5 separate regions of the Homo sapiens genome follow, and regions 2, 3, 4 and 5 are each linked to region 1. The links are contacts of gene promoters, found by promoter capture Hi-C in blood cells and fetal thymus (Javierre and others, 2016). All regions are on one chromosome and are shown on one strand. The core of a region is centred on a gene start or on the middle of the fragment in contact, and the rest is flanking DNA. Distances in the headings are between cores, read along the strand shown.

The links. Contacts are between HindIII fragments. The CHiCAGO score rates a contact against its expected background, and 5 or more counts as called.
Region 2: a fragment that was not itself captured here is called in contact with the fragment with the promoter of HSD17B10 in region 1 in 3 of 17 cell types (monocytes, M0 macrophages and erythroblasts); the score reaches 5.8 in monocytes.
Region 3: a fragment that was not itself captured here is called in contact with the fragment with the promoter of HSD17B10 in region 1 in 3 of 17 cell types (M0 macrophages, megakaryocytes and M2 macrophages); the score reaches 6.2 in M0 macrophages.
Region 4: a fragment that was not itself captured here is called in contact with the fragment with the promoter of HSD17B10 in region 1 in 5 of 17 cell types (monocytes, M2 macrophages, M1 macrophages and 2 more); the score reaches 6.9 in monocytes.
Region 5: a fragment that was not itself captured here is called in contact with the fragment with the promoter of HSD17B10 in region 1 in 10 of 17 cell types (megakaryocytes, M2 macrophages, total CD8 T cells and 7 more); the score reaches 7.3 in megakaryocytes.

Annotation. Positions count from the first base shown.
Region 1 is chrX:53,432,625-53,436,276 of GRCh38, reverse strand. HSD17B10 (hydroxysteroid 17-beta dehydrogenase 10) reads left to right here and starts at 1,907. Exons shown (of 6, transcript NM_004493.3): 1 at 1,907-1,958; 2 at 2,391-2,555. The coding sequence starts at 1,932. The HindIII fragment of the contact is 11,572 bases long and covers 612-3,652 here.
Region 2 is chrX:53,199,563-53,203,214 of GRCh38, reverse strand. KDM5C (lysine demethylase 5C) reads left to right here. Exons shown (of 26, transcript NM_004187.5): 13 at 1,242-1,361; 14 at 1,471-1,665. Among named protein-coding and RNA genes, the nearest start is that of MIR6894, 2.4 kb to the right of the region's middle. The HindIII fragment of the contact is 1,400 bases long and covers 947-2,346 here.
Region 3 is chrX:53,242,232-53,245,883 of GRCh38, reverse strand. It overlaps IQSEC2 (IQ motif and Sec7 domain ArfGEF 2), which reads left to right. Exons shown (of 15, transcript NM_001111125.3): 9 at 2,413-2,552. Among named protein-coding and RNA genes, the nearest start is that of KDM5C, 19 kb to the right of the region's middle. The HindIII fragment of the contact is 9,178 bases long and covers 1-3,652 here.
Region 4 is chrX:53,263,882-53,267,533 of GRCh38, reverse strand. The region is part of intron 2 of IQSEC2 (IQ motif and Sec7 domain ArfGEF 2); the gene reads left to right. Among named protein-coding and RNA genes, the nearest start is that of KDM5C, 41 kb to the right of the region's middle. The HindIII fragment of the contact is 7,501 bases long and covers 1-3,652 here.
Region 5 is chrX:53,299,425-53,303,076 of GRCh38, reverse strand. The region is part of intron 1 of IQSEC2 (IQ motif and Sec7 domain ArfGEF 2); the gene reads left to right. Among named protein-coding and RNA genes, the nearest start is that of IQSEC2, 20 kb to the left of the region's middle. The HindIII fragment of the contact is 5,804 bases long and covers 1-3,652 here.

The DNA of each region.
Region 1 (3,652 bases), core at 658-3,157:
TTTAAGTGTCTTGTACACGCCAAGCAGTGTTCTCGGCATTAGGTGAACCAGCTGGACAAGCCCCTGGTGCCATGGGGCTTACCTTCCAGCAGGGGGAGAACTACACAAACAAGGCCAGGTTAGCGGAGCATGCAGGCTCACAAGCCTGTAGGCACAATCCTGCAATGCCAAAACTTCTGAAAAGCATAAGGTTGTTTTTTCATACTTTGGAGCCCAAACTCAATAGATGACAAAACCTGACCTGAAGTAGTGTGAGGCTATTTATAGTCTTTATTCACACTTGGTGTGAATTTTCATACCTTTCACTTCAGAAATATTAATATTTCATTACGATGCTCCAGGCTTTTCTCAATAGTTATATAATATAGACTATACAAAAAGTTATGTTTGACTAGTTTTTTTAAAGAGTTATGTAATATAAATTACATGTCTTCCTTTCTCAAATTGAAAAAAACTCTGAATTCCACAGCACATCTGGCCCTAAGGTTGGAAAATGGATTACGGACATGCAAGTGCTATGAAGATAATTCAAATATGCAATGGGATAGTGTCTAGGTGGCTACAGTTTGAATATTTAGGGAGGACCCCTCTGGGAAGGTGATATTTAAGCTTAGTTCTGAATGAAAAAAAATAAAAGCAGTCATGCAAAGATCAGGGGAGAGCATTCCAAGCAGAGGGAGCAGCTAATGCAAAGATGAACACAAAGGAGGCCACTGTGGCTACAGCATATTGGGCCGGATGAAGAGTGCTATAAATTGATGGAAGCACTTCATGTAGATAGGAAAATTGTGAGACCGGTGTGCTAAATCCTTTGGTAAATACGGTGTAGTGATTATGAGTGTGGTGGCTGTCAACAACTAGAAGGCCTGGAGGGGAATCTTCCTGGGTGAGAAAGCAAGTGGGGGGAGATATTTCAGATAGAGAAAACATAAAGCAGTTCTGAGGCTGAAATGGTGGGCTAAGATTTATGGCCTGAAGACCTTGGTTTGAGGAAAAGTATAGAAGGAAGACAGATTAGATATCTGGGCTCAAGACTCTAATGACATAGCTTCTGGAAGCTGCCTGAAAGATGTTCTAGGATGACAAAGACCTGGGTCTTAAATAATAGTCTCTGGTTGAAGTCCAATCTGCAGTGTGTGATCTGGGCTTTTGGACTTAAATTAGACAAAGATAGAGGAGAGTAGCAAAGCCTGAACTGATGAAAGATGTTTTTGCCTCTTTAGGTTTGTGCTTCTCAGCAGCTGTCCTAGAATGTCTGTCTCCAAGCATCTCTCTTAGCGGCTTTCCACATTCATCTCTCTGTGATCCTACCTGGCATCTCTCTTCCTATCTCGGCCTCAACATATTTCTCTTTACATGGCTCTCTCTCTCTCTAACTCAGACTCCTCATCTTTGGATCTCCTTGTCTGAGTGTCCCAGAATCTGGTTCCGTCCATTCGTCTGTGTCTGTACTGTAATTCTCTTTCTCCACCTGGACTGTGCCCTCCTGGAAGGCATGAATCTTTTATTATTCCGCTGGGTATCCCAGGTGCCCCGCACACCGTCTAGCATATAGGAGTCTCAAATACATTCATACTTGAATTAAGACTTTTTCAGAGGAGAAAGGCATCCGTTCTCAATATCCACCCCTCTTCCCCCACGCGGAGCAGGCCACTTGCCAAAAGGCCAGCTAGAGAGTAGGGCGAGGGGTGTTGTGGTATTGTACTTCTGCTATTGGTCTCTTTCCCCAGTTGAAATAACTCTGGGGATACCTTAGCAGGCGGAATCCGCCCTCTGGCCAAAGGACTAGCGTACCAGGCCACGCCCCCACGTCTCATGCGGCAGCGGCAGACGCCCCGGCCCGTCGCATCCGCCCCTTCCGCCGCTTCGCCTCGGCCAATCAACGAGCGCCCGCGCCCCCATCCCCATCCCGTGGAGTGGCCGGCGACAAGATGGCAGCAGCGTGTCGGAGCGTGAAGGTAGAAGGTTCTTTGCCTCTGTTGCTTGCCTTCCTTTACGGGCCGGGACAGCGCGGCCGTGGAACTAGGAGAAAGAGATCGGTTTCGAGGGAAAGGGTCATGCTTATGTAGGCCTGGTATTGTGGCCGTTGGGCTCAAGAGGTGAAAGTCAGCACTCCGCGGCGCATCTGTCTGTCTGTCTGTCTGTCTATCTATCTATCTATCAATCATCTATCTATCTATCGTCACGGGACGGGCTGTCTGGGGATGAGATCCCTTCTGCCCCCGAGGTCCCAACGCTGAGGAGAAGCAGCACACCTAGTTTACCCGCAGGGGTGACCACGACCTCTCCCCTCCCCCCTTCTCCTCAGAAGCCTGGAGAACAGGCAGGCGACAGCGTGGGGATGGTCTGGGCAATGTAACAGCTGACCCTGACCATGTCCCTTTTGACAGGGCCTGGTGGCGGTAATAACCGGAGGAGCCTCGGGCCTGGGCCTGGCCACGGCGGAGCGACTTGTGGGGCAGGGAGCCTCTGCTGTGCTTCTGGACCTGCCCAACTCGGGTGGGGAGGCCCAAGCCAAGAAGTTAGGAAACAACTGCGTTTTCGCCCCAGCCGACGTAAGTGGGGTCACCTCTCCTCTCCCAGGGTGTGCATGAGGTCACCAACACCGGCCTGGGAACCTGTGGGGGTCCCTCCCATAAGGGTCTCCTCTATGGGGGCGGTAGACCCATCTCCTTGTCTCTTTTGGCCTGAGCCTTCAAGCACTGTGGGACCACCTGTGATAAGGATTCTCTAAAGCTGGGATTCACAACAATGAGGATGGGGATTGGACGTAACAATCTCCTGGAGGAGTTATGTATGGTTTGAAAATGCATTTTGTGCCTTGTAATTTTATATTTACAAAGTCAAAAAACTTGTTTTCATGAAACAAACTACAGAAAGTGAAACTTGATGAAATCATCTTAGCAGGTAAGGATACAAAAAAGCTAGTTTATCTTCCTATCAATAATTCTCACAAGAGGGTTATTTTTTATTTTTATTTTTGAGATGGAGTCTCGCTCTGTTGCCCAGGCTGGAGTGCAGTGGCACAATCTCAGCTCCTTGCAACCTCCATCTTCTGGGTTCAAGCGATTTTCCTGCCTCAACCTCCCAAGTAGCTGGGATTACAGGCACCTGCCACCACGCCCAGCTAATTTTTTTTTTTGTATTTTTAGAAGAGATGGGGTTTCACCATGTTGGCCGGGCTGGTCTTGAACTCCTGATCTCACGTGATCCGCCCGCCTCGGCCTCCCAAAGTGCTGGGATTACAGGTGTGAGCCACTGCACCCAGCCTCACAACAGGGTTGCATTAGTGCTCTGATCCACAGCAATTAAGAATCTTCAGGAGCATGTGAATTTATCAAGAAGGTATTGATTTGAAAAATGTTTTTGCAACACTGCTCTATATTACCTAATATTTTCACCTTTGACCTACTCTCTCAATTTTTTTTTTTGGGACAGAGTCTCACTGTTGCCCAGGCTGCAGTGCAATGGCACGATCTCAGCTCACTGCAACCTCTGCCTCCCGGGTTCAAGCGATTCTTCTGCCTCAGCCTTCCAAGTAGCTGGGATTACAGGCATGTGTCACTATGCCGGCTAATTTTGTATTTTTAGTAGAGACGGGTTTTCACCACGTTGGCCAGGCTGGTCTCAAACTCCTGATCTTAAGTGATCC
Region 2 (3,652 bases), core at 397-2,896, 230 kb after region 1:
TCAGAATGGCTTCGAACTTTTCAACAGTAACACTAGAAGATCAGAGCAGTGTGCCTTTAAAATTATTTTCTGAGTCAACAACTATGGGAGTTTTTAAAAAAAGGATTTTTGCCGGGCGCGGTGGCTCACACTTGTAATCCCAGCACTTTGGGAGGCCGAGGCGGGCGGATCACGAGGTCAGGAGATCGAGACCACGGTGAAACCCCATCTCTACTAAAAATACAAAAAATTAGCCGGGCGTGGTGGCAGGCGTCTGTAGTCCCAGCTATTCGGAGAGGCTGAGGCAGGAGAATGGCGTGAACCCGGGAGGCGGACCTTGCAGTGAGCCGAGATCGTGCCACTGCACTCCAGCCTGGGCGGCAGAGCGAGACTCCGTCTCAAAAAAAAAAAAAAAGGATTTTCATCTTAGAATTCTATATACAGTCAAGTGTGAGAGTAAGAATAGAGACTTTCTTTAAAAAAAGAAAAGTAGGTTCTTCACACCATTTCTCAGGAAACTGTTGGAGGATGTTCTTAAGCATAGCAAAGGAATAAACCAAGAAAGAGGAAGACGTGGGATCTAGGAAATAGGAGATCTGTCACAAGAGAGTGATGATCCAGGGAGGACAGCTGGTCCAGATTGGGACAGATCAGAAGGTTGCATGAGACTGCTACAGAAAGATGAAAATTGATAGGAAAAGAGATTTAAATATTGGTCAGAAAATTAGGGATATATGCATAAAAAACTGAGCAAATTGAGAAACAGGAGGCTGTTTTTAACATAGTCTAGAAGCATGTTATTTAAGGTAGTTATAATCAACGCCAAAATAATCAGAAGAGGTGGAAGTGATTGGCTGTGGGGAAGGGAGAATGGCAAGGCTGGCTGATTTTATAACAGATCTTTATAGAGCCATTTGACTCTACAAACTGCATATATAACTGATGAAAGTAAATAACTAAAAAAGCTTGTCCAGCTTGATTAAAAGTGATATTTATAATTTTTGCAAAAATTACTAAGGAAGTTGGAATATTTTGACAGATATATTTTTTAATCTCAAATCTTCCTATCATCTCAACACACATCAAAACCTTGAGAGCAGAGACCAGTGGTCCTTCCTTTCAGAGTTGGAGAGTCTGGGATTCTGTTGTCAGACTGTGTTCCCTGAGGCTTTTCTTTGTCTCCTTAATTACCTTGCACTTAAGTCAGGTCTGTATACAGGAAAATCTCTATCTCAACAGCCATGGCCTTTTGTGTTCTTCAGGTTGTCCGCACAAACCAGTGTGCAGGAGAGTTTGTCATCACCTTCCCCCGTGCTTACCACAGCGGCTTCAACCAAGGCTACAACTTTGCCGAGGCTGTCAACTTTTGCACTGCTGACTGGGTGAGTCTAGAATGTGGTGGGATGGTGGGGAGAAGCAGGAGGGTTGTAGAGAAGCTGGGGCATCATGGCCTCCAGACTTGGCCACACTCAACCTTGAACCTGCCCACAGTTGCCTGCTGGGCGCCAGTGCATTGAGCACTACCGCCGGCTCCGGAGATACTGCGTCTTCTCCCATGAGGAGCTTATCTGCAAGATGGCTGCCTGCCCAGAGAAGCTAGACCTGAACCTGGCGGCAGCTGTGCATAAGGAGATGTTCATCATGGTGCAAGAAGAGCGGCGTCTACGAAAGGCCCTGCTGGAGAAGGTGGGGAGAGTACCCCAGATCAAGCACCCTATTCTGGTGGAAGTTCGGGGAGGCAGAGGCAGCACCAAGAAGATGTAGCCTCTACTCTTGGCGTATAGTGAAAAGAACTAGATGCATCTCGATTGAAAACCACATACCATTCTCTGCTATACCCTTTACCAGCAACCTTAAGTCGATTTACTTCATTGTCAGTTTTCCCCTCTGAAAAATGGGATTATGATAATGCTTATCTTTTTGGATAGTTGATTGTATTAAAGATAATGTTTGCTTAGTGACTGACCCATGGCAGGTACTGGTATAGCAGCTATTTATCATTATTTACATGACCTAGCAAAATAGACTGGCATATGAAACCTCACTGCTGATTATCTAGGTGACTGTATCAAGTTACTTGATCTTTCATATCTCACTTTCCTACTCTAAAGTGGGAATAAATACCTAACTTGCAAGATGTAAGGTTAGAGTAAGGTGATTTATATGAAAGCCATCTCTCTAACATTGCCTTTGCAATGTTGCAGCTGCTATTATTGGTAATGTTAATACATGAAGAAACTGATTGAAATTTGGAATGTTTCTCAGGAATTGCCATTTTATTACATGCAGATGGTTTATTAACTCCAGCTAGGGCAATAATATTACCAAGCTGAAGGTGGTCCTGCTTTAATTGATTTCTTGTAAGCTTGTGTCAGTTGTGTGTGTAGCTGAGTGGAAGCTGCTACAGAGCTCTAAAGTCCACTCGTGTAGTTTCAGCCATCATCTTCAAATTTCACACTTGCCCAGTTAGGGAATTGACTTTGTGAGAGTCTTTCATAAGATTACAAAGGAGTGCTGGTTCTGTGGGATCCCTTGCTGCCTATCTAGGGTAATACTTTCTTATTTTAAAGCTCATTTATAGCTTTCCTGTGAGTGTGGGCTATAGGGAGAACTATAGCTACAGTAGTGTTGGAAGTCTGGGGCCTCTCAGTCGTGGTGTAAGTTGTTGAGTCCCTGGGCTTTTCCAGGCATCATTTTCTCACTCTGTTCAGTACTGTTATTAAATGATGGCCGTGTGGCTGTGCCAAGCTGTGGGAAGGAGCCAAAGCAAGGTGGGGAGAATAGACCTTCTCATCTTGACATTCAGAATTCTTCACACTTGGCCCTTACCTCAGAGAAGCATTCTGGACACCATAGTCTTGGAATCCTGTAAGAGATTGTATGTGTATTTAAGTATGTTTCTGGGAAGAGGACTTATAGTTTACATCCAATTCTCAGGAGTCTGTAGTCCAAAAAAACCCTAGAGACTTCATCCTTAGAATATTCTCTGGCTTTAGAGTCAAAATTAACTCAGTTTGGCAAGTTACTGACCCTGAGACTTAGTTTCTGCCTTAGTAAAATGAGATAGGCCTGTGGAATATATATTCTTATCTGAAAATTAGAGCTAATAACAGTAAATATTTGATGAACACTGAATCTAAGTGCTGAGATACTTGTCTGATTCCATAGCTGCTTTATTTTTGTTAATCCTCATAACAACCCAACAAGGATGATACTGTTTATCTCCATCTTACTAGATAATGAAACAGACCCAGAGACGTTAAATGATTTACTCATGATCACACAGCATATAAGTGGCAGAGTGGGATTTGGGCTCATAACTTATGCAGAGATTAGGTGTTAAAGTTGGTATGTAAGACAAAAACTGTTAAGAGTTGACATTTCCCATTAAAATCCCTAAAATTGCCCATTAGATATACACACTGGGTTGTCTCTCGATTACTCCAATATAGCCAGCTTTTCCTTCATTTTTGAAATGGATTGCTTTTTCTTTATCTGAGCAACAGATGAAGTCATTGGATTAGGTTTGGAAACCATATTGTTGGGAGAAAATTATTATATCTCTTTAAACCCTGAACACAAGCACATACGGTTGAATTTCTCTAAGTTATATATGTGCACAAGTATCTCCTGCCTACTAAGTGGCCAGCGTGGTGCCTGGAACACAGTGGGC
Region 3 (3,652 bases), core at 602-3,101, 190 kb after region 1:
CTTGAAAAAAAAAAAAAAAAAAAAAGAACAATTGAGATGAGGTCATTGATGGGTTGGGAAGGTCCCAATATATGAGGTTCCAATATATGGAACCAATATATGAGGGCCTTGAATGCCAGATGAAAGGTGTCACCTTGCTCTTTTTGCTTATTCTACTGATGTCGAGCCCTGCCTATCACCAAAGAGCAGCTACTAAAAATGGTACAGATGTTAAGATTATTTAAGCAGAAAAGAAAGAGGGAAATAGAGTCAAAGAAAAAAAGCAAACTGAACACAAGACAAATTGGCTGCCCATCAGGTTTGTGCCGCTGTGGCTGCTCTGGTAAGAAAGTCAGTGCGATGTAGTATGTTCCTTTAGCACCTGTCCAAGGAGGAGATGTGACATTTCCAAGGAAGAAAACATTTTTTTTGTTTTCTGTTTTTTTATTTTATTTGTTTTTTTTTTTTTTATTTTTAGAGACAGGGTCTCACTCTCTCACCCAGGCTGGATTGCAGTGGTGCTAGCAGAGCTCACTGCAGCCTTGAACTCCTGGGCTCAAGCGATCCTCCCACCTCAGCCTCCTAAGTAGCTGGGACTATAGGCGCGTGCCACCATGCCCAACTAATTTCTAAATTTTTTGTAGAGACAGGGTCTTGCTAGGTTGCCCAGGCTGGTCTCAAACTCCTTGCCTCAACTCGGCCTCCCAAAGTGCTGGGATTACAGGTGTGAGCCTCCACGTCCTGCCCAGAAAACATTTTCTCTAGTAGAGGATTTAGAGAGAAGAGTGAGTGGGTTTCACTCAGCAATCAGAAGTGGAGAAGGATGGTGAACATGGGAGGAGGGAGTTAGATCAGAGGCCATTTGGAGCTGTCTCCTAGAATTTTGCCATCATTCATTCATCCATTCTTTTTCCCTCTCTCTCTCAATATATGTGTGTGTGTGTGTGGGTGTGTGTGTGTGTATGTGTAACTTCCCCCTCTAATTATTAAATAAATAAGCAAATAAATGAAGGTAATACATACTTTATTTCAGAAATGTTGGAAGATTCAGAAAATTAGAAAATTTCTTTTTATCACCCAAAATGTGCCCCCTAGAGGCAATCATAGTTAATGTTTTGGTGCGTTCTAATCTTTTCCCCCATGCATATGTAACTTTTTATATAGTTCAGATCATACCACACATGCAATTTATCTTACTCTTTTCCCATAATTTGCTACTGTAATTTTCTCATGCTATTGAAATGTTTTTGTAAATGTCAAGTTTTTAATAGCTGTGCATTATCTTATTAAATGGATATACTATCCTCTATTGTTAAAATTTAGGTTGTTTCAAATTGTCCCCATAAGTAACACTTAGTGAGTTTTTTTTTTTTTTTTTTGAGACAGGGTCTTGCTCTGTTGCCTAGGCTGGAGTGCAGTGGTGCAATCATGGTTCACTGCAACCTCCTCCTCCCAGGCTCAAGCTATTATCCCACTTCAGCCTCCCAAGTAGCTGGGGCCACAGGTGTGTGCCACCACACCCAGCTAATTTTTGTATTTTTTGTAGAGATGGGATTTTGCCATGTTGCCCAGGTTGGCTCTCGAATTCCTGGGCTCGAGCGATCCACCTGCCTCAGCCTCCCAAAGTGCTGGGATTATACCACGCCTGCCCTAGCATTCTTTTTTTTCTTTTTCTTTTTTTTTTTTTTGAGACAGAGTCTCAATCTTGTTGCTCAGGCTGGAGTGCAGTGGCGCGATCTTGGCTCACTACAGCCTCTGCCTCCCGGGTTCAAGCAATTCTGCCTCAGCCTCCCGAGTACCTGGGACTACAGGCACATGGTGCCATGCCTGGCTAATTTTTTGTATTTTTAGTACAGATGAGGTTTCACCATGTTGGCCAGGATGGTCTTGATCTCCTGACCTCGTGATCCACCTGCCTCGGCCTCCCAAAGTGCTGGGAGTACAGGCGTGAGCCACCATGCCCCGCCTGCACTAGCATTCTTGCACATACCTCTTGCACATATTTCTGAGTAGTTCCTTAGGGTAGATTCCTAGAAGAGAATCACTGGGTACAAACATTTAGGTTCTTGCCAAATTACCTTCCAAAAGAGTTATGTTACCATACATGCCCACTTCCCTGCACTCTTCCTAGCACTGGATTTCATTTTAAATTATTTTTGCTAATTAGGAAGGCAAACAATAGTATCTGATTGTTTTAATTACAGTGTATTCTGAGTTGTTGAGAAAAAATTCCCCACTCTGGGGAAGATAGCAACTGGCTGTTGTACTGAAGGACACCCTCCCTGCCCCAATCCTGGCTAAGGGGCCGAGGGTACCCATTGACCCTCAGTCCTGACTATCGTGGCCCGTGCCTGGGTGTGGGGGTGGTGGAGCACCCCTACCACCCAGTGCCCATAATTATGTGACATATCCCTGTGTTACTCCCTCCCCCAGGGGTTGACAATGGTGAAGACATCCCCCGAGACCTCCTGGTGGGCATCTACCAGCGCATCCAGGGGCGTGAACTGCGGACCAACGATGACCATGTGTCCCAGGTGCAGGCTGTGGAGCGCATGATTGTTGGAAAGAAACCAGTAAGTGCCTTGGGAGGCTGCAGAGGGGCCAGGGTTCAGGTCTGCCTCTGCCACTAAGTGGTAAGTCACTGCACCTCCCTGAGCCCCAGGTGCCCTTTACCTGCAATACAGAGTGGGTGATAATGCATTCCTCAGAAGGCTGTGGTGCAGAGTGAATGCATCGAGCACATTCCAAGGCCCATAGTGGGTACTATATAAATATTAGCATCCTTTTCACCTCCGGCTTTGCCTGTCCATCCTAAGTGAAGAGCCAAGCTAATGGTTAGCAGAAAACCAAAGTAAGAACACACTTTAGGCCAGGTACAATGGCTTGTGCCTGTAATCCCAGCACTTTGGGAGGCCGAGGTGGGTGGATCACCTCAGGTCAGGAGTTCCAGACCAGCCTGGCTATCATGGCAAAACCCTGTCTCTACTAAAAATACAAAAATTAGCTGCGGGCGTGATGGTGCATGCCTGGAGTTCCAGCTACTCAGGAGGCTGAGGCAGGAGAATTGCTTGAACCCGGGAGGCGGAGGTTGCAGTGAGCTGAGATCGTGCCAACGCACTCCAGCCTGGGGCCACAGAGCAAGACTCCGTCTCAAAAAAAGAAAAAAAAAAAGAAAACGCTTTAGCCAACAAACATTTGTGGATGCCTTTCCACTGAGCCCAGCATTTGCTGGGCACCAGAGTTGGTGCTGGGCATTCATAGATATGAATCAGACGTGTTCTCTATCCTTGGGGGCACTCACAGACCAGTCGGGGTGTGAAACAAAGACACATATAATACTTCTGCTTTATGGTCCAGTTTAGGAGAGGAGAAAGGAGAGAGAGACCATTTTCAGCCTGGAGAAATCAGGGAAGGCTTCTTGGAAGAGATCATTTTGGGATTGAATTTTTTTTTTTTTTTTTTTTTTTTTTTGACATGGAGTTTCACTCTGTCACTCAGGCTGGAGTGGAGTGGCATGATCTCGGCTCATTGCAACCTCTACCTCCTGGGTTCAAACGATTCTCCTGCCTCAGCCTCCTGAGTACCTGGGATTGCAGGCGCCCACCACCACACCCAGCTAATTTTTGTGTTTTTAGTAGAGACGGGGTTTCACCATGTTGGCCAGGCTGATCTC
Region 4 (3,652 bases), core at 417-2,916, 170 kb after region 1:
AAAACTCTGGGTTCAAATCCTGACTCTACCACTTACCCAGCTGTGTGACCTAGAGCAAGTTATCTAACCTTTCTGAGTTTTAATTCCCTCATCTCTAAAATGCTCCTCTGCAGAGCTGTTGTAGGGGCTAAGTGAGATGATGCGTGCAAAATGAGAGCAGGTTGCTGTTATTATATTAAAATGAGGGTCAGGCACCTGGCAGGGTTAGAAAGGGAGTTGATATACGCTGAGGGTGACCTTAAGACTGAGCCCAGGCTGGGTGTGGGGGAGGGCTGTCCCAGCACACTGAGTTGGGTGTGACCCTGGATAATCCATCACACTGGCCTCCCCACCCTGACCCCCATTCTCGTCCCACCTTCTGGTTCCGGTCCTGGCCCTTCGCGTATCTCCCCTGCTCTGCAAACTAATGCCTCTGCCTCTCTCTGTCACCCACCGCCTGTGGCCTCTACCCCGCCCTTCCTGGCCCCAGGGAAGAGGAGGAGGAGGAGGAGACTGAGGAAGAGGAAGAGGAAGACGCTCACCAGTTCTGCTGTCCGGCCTCCGAGTGCAGTAGTCCCTCCTCTCGGTAACTGAGAGGACAAGGGCCATTTTCTATGCAGAAGCAAAAGCCTTAACCAGCCCCTCCTTCCCCCCACCCACCCCCCCGCAGATTCCCCCATGGGACCCTGTCCCCTGCTTCAGGAACCAGATGGGCAAGCATCGTGCCCCTTCCTCCCCCCACCTTCTTCTTGGAATTCCCATCCCCACTGCTGTCTCCTCTGGACTCCAGCCCCTGAATTAAAGAGAGCTGGAGCCCTAGGTCCGACTAAAATGTGGGAGAAGCAGAGCTTGGAGCTTGGAGCTTGGAACCTGGATCCTCCCGTACCCGCACTCCCACTTCCCAGGCACCCTGGAGCCTGCCACTACTGGAGAGGTCTCCAAATGACATCCCAAGGACCTACCTCTGTCCTCTGTGAGCACAAACAGAGATGCAGGGTGCCTAGGGCTCAGAGGACCAGACGGGGGCAGGACCCAGCCTGCCTAGTTCCCTGTCGTTTGTTCCCTTGCTGTGGCCATTGCTGCCATCTCCTCCACTGCTTGAAGGCCTCACCCCATGCCCTCTGCCACTCCCATAGTGCTCTGTAAATATTATCAGGAGGAAAAGGCCTCTCAGAGTGCGTGTTGCTGTGTACAAAGGAATTTCCATCAATAAAAGCTGATCTCTTCTCTCTGTCTGATGTATATTCCACCCACCCCCACTTCCCTCTTCCAATCCCCACCAGGGCCTTGCCTTCTTTCCTATCCAGGGCTGGGAATAGGGGCCGGGAAAGAGAGTAGGGTTTGATTCGTGGTTTTGTCAACACCCAGGAGGCACTCAATAAATGCATGAATGACTCCCAACACGGGCAGGCTAACCTTGGATGTGTCGCATGACCTCTTTGACATCTATAAAAAGGAGAAGGGTTGGATTAGAGGGTCTCCAATGACTCTTCCAGCTGTGACATTTTGTGAATCTGAGATGCTACAGTTTTAAGAAGCTATGATTATGTGAATTTAATAGACAATGATTCAGTGACACATTCCACTGCAATTTTATGATTTCTATTTCTACAATGCAGTGATTTTGGGATTTTCCAGTCCTGTGGTTTTAAGATTGCATAATTCTACCATTTGAACAAATTCTGATGATGCAATTTTAATATTCTGCAATGTTTAGATTCCTTGATCGTTTACTTTTAAGGTTCTGATTCTACAACTTTAGGGATCTCTGAATCTGAGAGGAAGCCATTTCCCTCCAATGCAACGACCCTAAATATTCCCTGCACCTGGGCAGAGGCTGGTTCTAAGACTCCCTGGAGGCTCTCAGCTGGAGGGTGGAAGATGTCCTTTACGGGTTTGTAGGACTCACACCTTCCATGATGTGTCTGAAGTGGGCTCATACCCCCGACTTTTCCTGTCTGAGCCTTTGGTATTAGACAAATCTGAGTTTACCTTCTGGTTCTGCCACTTACATCTGTATAACCTTGAGCAAGTTTTTTCTTCTCCTTGAGCTTTGTTTTCCTCCTGAGTACAGTGAGAATATACCTACCTCTCTGGGTTGTCATGAAGATTAGCAAGAAAGAACACAACGAGCCCAGCATAGGAGCTTGTGCACTGTTGGGCAAGTGTGCTGTGATTGGTGGCTCTTGTTTTGATTAAGGCCCAGGTGAGAGTTTTCTCCTGTCTTTTCTTTCCTCCCTCCCTTCAGCATCTCTATCACATTGAACCTCTAGGTTTCCTAGAACCTCACCTCCTTCCCTCACTTATTGCCTCACTCGCTCAACTCATCTACTCATTCACCCATTCAAAGTCTCATTTATTTCTCCCCTCCCTCCCTGCCTGTCTCCCTTATTTACTCTTCCTCATTCTACTCAACAAAGCATTGTTTGAGCCCTTACTGGGTATAAGACCTGACGCTAAATACTGTGAGAGATCCAAAGTAAGACAGAGGCCAGGTGTGGTGGCTCACACCTGTAATCCTAGCCCTTTGGGAGGCTGAGACAGGCAGATGGCTTGAGGCCAGGAGTTTCAGATCAGCCTGGGCAACATAGTGAGATCTCATCTCTACAAAAAGATTTTTTTTTTTTTTTAAGCATGACAGTGGCTGTGTCCTCTGCGAGCTCTCCATCTCCCAGGGGAGATGAGAGATGAGAAATCCTTTGGGAAAGTAGGAAGGATGCAAAGGGTTAACATGATTGGACAGGAACGGCTTCAGTAATGAGCACATTTTGTTCCTGGCCCAGAGAGGAAGGAGATGTCAAGGTGGGTGGGGAGGTGTGGTGTCCAGGAGGGCTTGCTGGAGGAAGAGGTGCAAGAGTTGAGCCTTGAAGGCTGGTAAGGGTTTGAAAAGGTGGCAAGGGGTGAGAAGGCATTATAGGAGACAGGGACCGCATAGACAAAAACCTGGGGGAGCGCTCCAGGGTCATGCAGGGGAATGGTGGGTACATTACTCTGTTTATTCTGCTCTCCAGGGTGTGTGAATGTAGGTGACCTGGGGCTGGGGACGAGGAGACCATTCTACCCTTCCGCTGAATGGAGAGAGAAGCAAGTGTGGGGGTGGGGACGGGGGTTCAACTACATGGGGGGAGGGGGCAAGTCAGGGTCAGATGACCCTCCCGACCCGTGGGCAACTGAATTGGCTGAATCGGGCAGAGGGCTTGTGCTGTGGGAAGGGGGTGGGGTTTTGATCAGCCGTGAGAGAAATATGTGTGCACGCATGGCCTCCATGTGGCCGGCCATCCTCACACATGTCTTTGCACAAGGCTCTGCAGGTCTCACAGTTGTGAGACTGTGCACACTGCTGCAGAGCTGAGGAAATGTGATGATGTGAGACTGGGTGTGAGGAATTCTGAGTGTGAGGTTGATTGTGTGAAGTGGTGACTTTATGTACCTGGCAGCCTTGATGTCTGTGTCTGGTGGATGTAATCACAAGGCTGGGTGTGGGTGGCTTTTAAGCACGTGAGGCTGTGGCCTTTAGGGTGACAGTTGTCAGGCAGGATGGTCACACACACACAGACACACGTGATTTCTACCTGTGGTCTTCGAGGACCCAGGGTGGCTGCTGAGTAACTGCTGTGTGCTTAGTACTGGCATGAGTGCCATAGGTCCGCAAAGGTGAATCACACCGGGCCGC
Region 5 (3,652 bases), core at 413-2,912, 130 kb after region 1:
CATAGGCCACCACACCTGGCTAATTTTTTGGTTGTTTGTAGGGACAGGGTCTCCCTGTGTTGTCCAGGCTTGTCTCAAACTCTTGGGCTGAGGCAGTCTTCCCATCTCAGCCTCCTGAGTAGCTGGGACTATAGGCACACACCATCATGCCCACCTAATTTTTGTATTTTTGTAGAGACAGAGTTTTGCTATGTTGCCCAGGCTGGTCTCGACCTGGGCTCAAGCAATCCTCTCACTTTAACCTCCCGAGTAGCTGGGACTATAGGCACACACTAAAATGCCTGGCTAATTTTTATTTCATTGTAGAGACGGGATCTCCCTGTGATCCCCAGGCTGGTCTCAAACTCCTGGGCTCAAGCGGTCCTCCCGCCTTGGCTTCCTAAAGTGCTGGGATTATAGGCATGAGCCGCCGTGCCTGGCCCCAAATGCCTTTTTACCCTTGTCTACATGGCAGATAACCAGTTAACTTTTTTTTTTGACATAGGGTTGTGCTCTGTTGCCCAGGCTAGAGTGCAGTGGCATGATCATAGCTCGCTGAAGCCTCAAATTCCTGGGCTCAAGTGATCCTCCTGCCTCAGCCTCCCTAGTAGCTGAGGGAGGCCTAGAAACTTATTTCTCTCTGGTGCCACCACGCCTGGCTAACTATTCAAATTTGAAGAACATCTAAGTACCTCACACTGTTCAAGGCACTTGGAAACAGTGAGCAAAATAGACAAAACCTCTGCCCTGTGGAGCTGAGATTCTAGTGTATGGATGTCTGGGATGGGTGTGGAAAAGAAACAAATAAACAAGAAGACACATAATATGTCAAGTAGTGGTAAGTGCTATGGGGAAAATAAAGCTGCATGAGCCTGGGGATTGCAGAAGGCCCAGTCAGCTCCACCACAGCCAGTGTTTGCACAACCATTATTAAGCAGCATTTTCTCATTTAAGCATTTTCCAATGTTATCACATATTCTTTATAACCATAATCCTCCCAACAACCGTATCATATTAGTGCTATTATTATCTCCATTACATTGATGAAGAAACTGAAACTTAGGGTCATAAATCGCATAGCTGGAAGAGGCAGAGCTGAGACCCAAATCCAGGCCTGTCTGACCTAAAGCCTGGACTCATAACTACTGTCATTCTACAAACCTCAACACAATTCTCTGAAGTCAGAATTATTATGCCTATTTTATAGTTGGGGAAACTAAGTTCAGAGAGGAGAATGGATTCATCCATGGGTTGCACAGCAAATGAATGGATTTGAACCCAGATCTGTGAAGGCTAGGGCCTTCTACAAACCCTGAGGCCTAAGGCTCTATAGACTTGCCTGCCTCTACATTTCTAGGGCCCAAGCAAGTTACCAGTTGAAGCCCTTGGCCCTCCACACTTCTCTTCCCTCCCATAGTTCATATGGAGCCTTGAGATATGTGGATACCCCAGCCAACACCTCCAAGCCCTGTCTATCTCCCCTTCCCCTTAGGCCGCTCCTTGGTCCTAACAGATGGACCTGGGTAATAAGACCATGCAATTCCTGAAAGTAAGCCCAAGAAATTTAGGCAGGAAATTCTGAGGTCCTTGGTGCTTGAAGTGCAGCCTAGAAGGGACAGGGCCAAAGATCCTTATGGGTCCTGATGGCATTACAGACCTTTTGCCTGATGGAGAGTGGCCCCTAAAATGTGGGCCCCAGTGTAGGGCCTTCTGTTTATCAGTACAACCCATAAGATTGTGATTCGTAATAGGCTGGCCTCCAAGATCCTCCTCCTTTGGCTTCCTGAGCTAGGTCCTGCTTTGCAGGGAAGGGAGCAGGGGGTGTTCTGTGGGCCTGGGCCTTCAGAGGCTGTGGCCGGTGAAGAATAGAGCTTTCCCAGCAAGCCCTGGTGGACATGTGCACTGATTCTTATGCCCCCCGCCTCACAGTATTTTGTTCCCAGTACTCTCAGGCTACTTAACCAATTTAATTTCTTAGTAGCGTTTAAAAAATTATACTTTCAATGCATTTTTAAATTAGGAAATTTAGAAAAACTAGGAAAAGTAGAGGAGAAAAACATTACACATAATTACAGCACCCAGAGGCAGCCACTCTGAGCATCTGGTGTATTTGCCCTTGTTCTCTGCATTTTTTTCATGTAGTTGAAATGATTTTACACATACAATTTTTGTTCTTGATTTTTCCATTTGAGCATTTCCCATGTCATTGCATATTCTTCATAACCATCATTTTTAGTGGCAACTGATATACCACGATGGACTTAACCATCCTCTTAATGTAGGGTGTAGAAGCTGTGCTCATTTTTTTCACTGGTTTAAATCATGCTGCGATAGGCTTCCTTGCACACACAGCATCAAAGGAACTTACAGCTTTTAGGGAATTGACCTTATATAGGGACAATTGTATTCAGCTTATTTCCCTTTCTAGATGGTCCCTCTAGCTGGGTCCAATTCGTTTATTTAGTCATTCATTTATTCATTAATTTCGTCACCACATATTTACTCCATACGCCTGGAAGCCAGACTCTGAGATCTGGGGGTCCAAGCAGGAATGAGACAGAGCGCCTGACTACCAGGAGCTCCCAGTCGCTGGGAGAGTCAGCCATGGAAATAGACAATTTCAGAACAGTTTGATCAGGGCTGTGATGGAGTCAAGAAAAGGATACTGTGGGAGAACAGAGGAGGGGCTCCTAACCCAGCCTAGGGATGTTAAGATACGCTTCCTGGAGGAGGTGGTGCCTAAATGGGTCATGGAGGATGAATAGGAGTTGGCTGGAATAAGAAAGGGAGCTTCCTGTTAAACACAATGAGTTGGATAAACTTATTTCTCTCTGTTGCTTTCCCAAATCTCATTAAAATATGAAAAAAGGAGTAAAAAAGGTAGAAACACATAAGGTCTGGGATGCTGACCAGAAGTAAACTATTCTACTTAGAGAATCCCAGCAGTGCTCAGGATTGAGAGGTACTGAAGGTACATCCTCAGAAGGCAGGATGAAGTATGGACCTGAGAATGGGAATGTTGAAAGTCTTTTCTGTCCGGGCACAGTGGTTCATGACTGTAATTCCCCCCCCAACTTTGGGAGGCTGAGGTGGGAGGATTGCTTGAGCTCAGGAGTTTGAGACCAGCCTGGGCAACATAGTAAAACCCTGTCTCAAACAAACAAACAAACAAACAAAAGATTGGCTAGGTGTGGTGGCATGTACCTGTGGTTCTAGCTACTCAGGAGGCTGAGGTGGGAGGATCGCTTGATGAGCCCAGGAGGTCAAGGCTGTGAGCGATGCTCACACCACTGCCTCCTAGTCTGGGCAGCAGAGAGAGACCTTGTCTTAAAAAAAAAAAGTCTTGTCTTTTTGGTCCTTCCCCAACCCCATCCAGACAGTGAGTCCCCCACTCCCAGCTGCATCCCTGCAGATGGAGGTTGCTTCTTTGGAGAAACTGAAGTTAAGAGGCTTTGACTTGAAGTCACCAAGTACAGTGGAGGATGGGGTGAAACAGGCCTGCAGGCAAAGGGATCTGCAGCCTAAAACAGTGGAACCCCAACTTCCTTCCACTTAAAACAGTGGGACTCCAACCTCCTTCAACTCCCCCACTTCTAGGACACCAAAGTCAGGTACACAGATGAGATCAAAGGATTGTTCTCTGGGGAAACTGAAAGGCCCCAGAAAAAAAGGC